2 separate regions of the Homo sapiens genome follow, and region 1 is linked to region 2. Evidence: promoter capture Hi-C in 16 types of primary human blood cells and fetal thymus (Javierre and others, 2016). All regions are on one chromosome and are shown on one strand. Each heading gives the region's core, a stretch centred on a gene start or on the middle of the fragment in contact. The rest is flanking DNA. Distances are from core to core; before and after follow the strand shown.

Region 1 (2,738 bases), core at 10-2,509, 2.3 Mb after region 2:
CTGGGGGGCGGAGGTTGCAGTGAGCTGAGATTTCACCACTGCACTCCAGCCTGGGCAACAGAGCGAGACTTTGTCTCAAAAAAAATTTTAAACTAAAAATTAAATTAAAAAAAATGTTTTTCAAAGGAATCCCACTTCTTTTCTCTCCCCTGTCCATCTTCAGGTGCTACAGAAAGGGCCAAAAATCAGTGAGGGGGAAAATACAATAGAAAGCAAAAAGAAGAAAATGAATTTGGCTAATACACCAACTAGAGAATTAGGCCCTGAATGTTCAAAAATTAACTGCATACCTCCTACTCAATTTTACTGTGAGCTCTAAAAATAAGGTCTATTAAAAAAAATTAACCACACCTTTTAGGCAATTTTTTTTTGTTCTATATCCTGTGATTTGGAAGATAAGGTAGATTTAGATAATTGACCAGTTTTGACTATTAATTGATGCTTGAACAATTTTCCAAAGCACCAAAACCAGTTTTCTTTTGACTCCACTGAACTGAATTAGTAAAAAAATTAACAGTTATTTCTCATTTCAATTGCCTGTACCTTCACATTTAGGCACTGCCCAGTCCCTGACCCTGTCACATACTAAAAAGACAAATATTCTTAGTGCTCCCTACACCCCACCCTGGGCCCCTTCCTCTTACCTGGGCACCACTGTTGTCCCCTGGGAAGCAGAAAGAGTGAGAACCAGCAGTGAAGACAACTTTGGGGCAGGAAGTGGGAGGGGCCAAAGAGAGTTGAAGCTCAAAGGAACACCTATGGGAGGCCAAACAGGTGATGGCTCAGACCTCTGACCAAGCCAGTCACTCTCTTTAGCTCATCTCCAGGCCAGCAGGCAATCAACCATTTTCTAAATGATTGCTTTTCTAAAGTGTTCATGGATGAACACAGGCCCTCAGTTTTAAAATCAAATGAAATTGTCAAATGGGCATGAGGAAGAGCTACTAAAATAAGATGCAATCTCCAGAAAACATAAAGGAAGGATTAAGAAATGTGACTTTTTAGGTACACGATTCAACATGAAAACATGAGTTACAGAACACTGATTATGGGGTGACACGATTTATGCTAGAGAGAGCTTACACTAGAGACAGTACATATGCATTGTGTGTATATGAAATACATAGAAATGGACTAAAAAGAATCTCAACCGTTTAGAAGGCTATTTAGGCAAGTTAGTTCCTGGTTTATTCCGTACACATTCAAGCAGCTTATTTCTTTTACAATGAGAATGTCATTCATATATTACTAGTCTATTTCACACTGCCATACAATGCAACTATTCTTATTATTGTATGTCCTCCTAAATATACCTTAGTGAAGATAGGCTATTGATACTGCACAATAAGCAAATTTCCCATCTCTTTTTTATTCATATTTAAGAAAGCCATGACAACAAATGGAGCTTTTCATGTAAAATATATGAAAGAATAGATTTACAAAAAGTCCCTCACTATGATATGTCAAAATTATTAATGCTGGGTGGGGGAATATTGATCTTTACTTTTTAAGTTCTTCTCCTCAAGCCCTATTCTTCGATAGCCAAAGTGCATGGAGTTTGCTTTCATTTTAAACATGTTTTTTGCCCCAAACTCTGACCTCTAAAACCTTCCCTTTCTTTGATGATAAACTGGACAAATGTCCTTTCTCAAAGTTATATGGGACTTTAATAATTATACTACCTTTTTTTTGTTGTTTCTTTTTTTTGAGACAGAGTCTCACTCTGTCAGCCAGATTGGAGTTCAGTGGCATGATCTCGGCTCACTGCAACCTCTGCCTCCCGAGCTCAGGCGATTCTTTTGCCTTAGCCTCCTGAGTAGCTGGAATCACAGATGTGTGCCATCACGCCTGGCTAATATTTTGTATTTTTAGTAGAGATGGGGTTTCACCATGTTGGCTAGGCTGGTCTCGAACTCCTGACCTCAAGTGATCCACCCCTTGGCCTCCCAAAGTGCTGGGATTACAGGCATCAGCCACCACACCCAGCCGTACATTTTGAAGACAAAAAAATTGAGAGCTCTGAACATTCAAATGCCTGAATAGTAGCTTTTACCTGAGTTCCTGGGCATTCTAGAGGAAGGTCATATACTAGGGCACTAAGGGTTTATGTTGACTAAAGGGATACTCAGCAGTGACTCACTCAGTTGGCAGGTCAAGAATAGAAACCAGAAGAACTCACTTCATGGCTTCTCTCCGCAAATACACACATATACACGTGCAGTGTCACATGCAAAGTATTACCTATTGGCATAATTATCTAATTTCCATAACAACATATCAACAAGCATACCAGCTCTGTACCAACTAAGTGCCCAAAGTATTTATAATCACATTCCATTACTCTAGAAGGGTGCCTGGACCAGATACTGGGGTGGCTGTGCCTTCTAGAAAGCAAGAATGGAATGCAGCTTTATACAAAAATATGAAGCTGTTTACATAGATATATATTCACCCGCACACATGCACACACGAAACATTTCTGGCCAATTCCCTCAGAGGGATCCCAAGCCATGCCATTGTTTATGTTACATGTACATCTGCATGTATATTATCAGTAAATTCCCACAAAGCTCAGTATAGGCTGGGCGCAGTGGCTCATTCCTGTAATCCCAGCATTTTGGGAGGCCGAGGTGGGCGGATCAACTGAGGTCAGGAGTTCAAGACCAGCCTGGTCAGCATGGTGAAACCCCGTCTCTATTAAAAATACAAAAAATTAGCTGGGCGTGGTGGCGCACTCC
Region 2 (2,996 bases), core at 1-2,500:
CCTGAGGTCGAGAGTTCAAGACCAACCAGCCTGACAAACGTGGAGAAACCCCATCTCTACTATAAATACAAAATTAGCCGGGGTGGTGGCACATGCCTGTAATCCCAGATACTCGGGAGGCTGAGGCAGAAGAATAGCTTGAACCCGGGAGGCGGAGGTTGCGGTGAGCCGAGATTGTGCCATTGCACTCCAGCCTGGGCAAAAAGAGTGAAACTCCATCTCAAAAAAAAAAAAAAAAAACAACTTTGTGCAAGGCAAGATATGAGTATCTTTCTGTGCATGTCCTGAGCCCTTGCCTGGTGCAAAGCCGCAGGGCAGATCCTGGGAGACCCCCCTATTCCCTCCCTTCTGGAAGTGTCTGGGTATTCTTAGGCCTCCCAGCCTTTGCCTCTGCTGTGCTCTCTGCCTGGGATGCCCACCTGGCTTGTCATCTCAAGTGCCACTTCTTGGAAGCTCCTCCTGTTAACCTCCCTCCCCCACCCAGGATGGAAGGAGAGGCCCCTCCCTTGCTCACCGCAGGATGGCACTCACTGCGCTGTGTCATTGTGGCATGATGTTCCACCGAATTGTTTACTCGCTGGCCTCCCCATTGGATGGAGGGCTACCAGAGGGCCACAGCCCAGAATTGCTGGCCTTTAGACCTCAGGGCATGCAGTCTGGAGTGCCAGAGTTGGTCAAATGAACAAATTTAGGATGAAGAAATAAGATAAGCAGGACTTGCCCTTGTGGTATCTGTAGTCCAGCTCCCTAGAGAGGCTCTTGGTTGCAGCTGAAAGGGCCTGTGCTGTGCATCTACAGAGAGTGTTTTGAGTCCTGCGAGAAGAAATACACCATATTTGCAAACCCTTTGAAGGTTCATATTTTGTGTTTTTTGCTCCCTGACCACCTCCCACCCCTCCCCACGCCCCACCAATCTTGGGCAAGAAGCGAGACCATTCTCCTTTTTCTCTGGTCACTCCTGTCCTTCAGGGGGCTCCCTCTGGCCCCGACTGTCCATTGCTGCTGAAGTAATGCTGTGGCCTTTCTCAGTTTGGGCCCCACCCAAAACCGAAGAACTTCTCCCCAGAAAGCTTCTACTTGGTTCTCAGTGTTTTCACAGTTATGGGAACCCAAGAACAGTGTCAGACCTAGGAGGTGCCCCACTACCACCCTGTCTTTATCAATGTTGTCACCAAAGCTGTCACAAACAATGGGGTGTGGGCTGTCACATGGCCCTGCCTAAGTAACCACATTCTCGCTTCCTCCTTCCACACACAGCCATTGGGGGTTGCTCGGATCCGGGACTGCCGCAGGGGGTGCCACAGCAGTGCCTGGCAGCGTGGGCTGGGACCTTGTCACTAAAGCAGAGAAGCCACTTCTTCTGGGCCCACGAGGCAGCTGTCCCATGCTCTGCTGAGCACGGTGGTAAGTGCTGGCTTGCAAAACCACAGGGAGTGGCTGGAGGTCCCCATGGGCCAAGGGCCTGCCTTATAGCTGCTGGCAGGCCCGGGTAGGACCGCCAGGCCCTTCTTGAGCTGCAGCACCTGGGGAGGGCAAACTGAGGCTCCTCCGACTCAAGACTAAAGTCTTCCTGGAGTCTGTGGCCTTATTCTGTGACTCTTCTGAATCCTGCTCCTGCCAACTTTTTTTTTCCTTCTTTTTTTGAGACAGGGTCTTACTCTGTCACCCAGGCTGGAGTGCAGTGGCACAATCATGGCTCACTGCAGCCTTAAACTCCTGGGCACAAGTGATCCTCCCACCTCAGCCTCCTGAGTAGCTGGGACTACAGGCGCACATCGCCGCATGCAGCTAATATTTTTACCTTTCCTAGAGATGGGGTCTCACTTTGATGCCGAGGCTGGTCTCAAACTCCTGGCCTCAAGCCTCTTGCGTTGGCCTCCCAAAGTGCTGAAATTACAGGTGTGACCCACCAGCCCCAGCCTCCCATTAACTTACTTCCCTCCCTGGCCAGTTTGCCTGCAGCGTCTGGCTTGGCGGCATTCTGATTTTGAAAATCAGAGAAACCATGAGTGTTTCCCTAGAAATGATCTTATCCTCTCCTTTCCTGGATGGGAAACTGAGGTCGGGAGAGGTGAAGGGATTTGTTTAGGGGCAGAGCTGAGATTAGGTCTGGAAGACTCCAGAAAGTAGGGGGAGTGCAGGATTTCTCTTGAAGCTGCATGTTATGGACGCATAAAAAAGTTCTTTTCAGAGAAAGATGCATTCTTCCCACTTTTTATAAGACTGAGGAAATGACACTTGTCTGTGGCAAACTATTAAAATATTAGAATTAAGATACTATTGTTAGCAAAAGGGAAAACAATAATAATAATAATAATTAGAATATTTGGCTGGGTGCAGTGGCTTACACCTGTAATCCCAGCCCTTTGGGAGGCCGAGGCAGGTGGTTGGCCTGAGCTCAGGAGTTCTAGACCAACCTGGGCAACATGGTGAAACCTCGTCTCTACCAAAAATACAAAAACTTAGCTAGGTGTAGTGGTGTATGCCTGTGGTCTCAGCTACTTGGGAGGCTGAGGTGGGAGGATCACTTGAACCTGGGAGGGGGAGGTCGCAGTAAGCCGAGATTGTGCCACTGCACTCCAACCCGGGTGGCAGAGTGAGACCCTGTCTCAAAAAAAAAAAAATTAGAATACTCTTATTAGTTTGTATTTGAGATACTTTCAGGACACTAAAAGGAAATGGTGGGGGCCAGTTGTGCCCTGCTGTACACACATTCACACACACACACACACACACACACACACACACACACACCCCATATTGTCGATATCTGGGCTTCTGTTGCCTGGAATTCTCTTCCTCTTTCCTCTTTCTTCTGTTTTCCTTTTTTTTCCATCTCTGACTTTGAGGCCCCCAGAGCCAGGCCCCTCAGTGGGCCGGGGCCTCAGAAGGTGGCTCCCAGGCCCTCAGACAGCCCCAGAGTCTCTTCCGAGGCCGTGCCCTGGGTGGTTGATGCCTCCCTCAGCAGGCTTGGCCAGCAGCCAGGGGAGTTAAAC

What was found. Contacts are between HindIII fragments. The CHiCAGO score rates a contact against its expected background, and 5 or more counts as called.
Region 1: a contact is called between a fragment that was not itself captured here and the fragment with the promoter of SELPLG in region 2, in 1 of 17 cell types (non-activated CD4 T cells). The highest score is 6.4, in non-activated CD4 T cells.

Annotation. Positions count from the first base shown.
Region 1 is chr12:106,295,879-106,298,616 of GRCh38, reverse strand. It overlaps a transcript of TCP11L2 not described here. Among named protein-coding and RNA genes, the nearest start is that of TCP11L2, 5.5 kb to the left of the region's middle. The HindIII fragment of the contact is 4,525 bases long and covers 1-2,738 here.
Region 2 is chr12:108,632,148-108,635,143 of GRCh38, reverse strand. SELPLG (selectin P ligand) reads left to right here and starts at 1,250. Exons shown (of 2, transcript NM_003006.4): 1 at 1,250-1,404. LOC105369968 (a long non-coding RNA gene) reads right to left here. Exons shown (of 3, transcript XR_007063449.1): 2 at 1-813. RefSeq lists a silencer at 439-488 and an enhancer at 1,729-1,778. The HindIII fragment of the contact is 5,781 bases long and covers 1,073-2,996 here.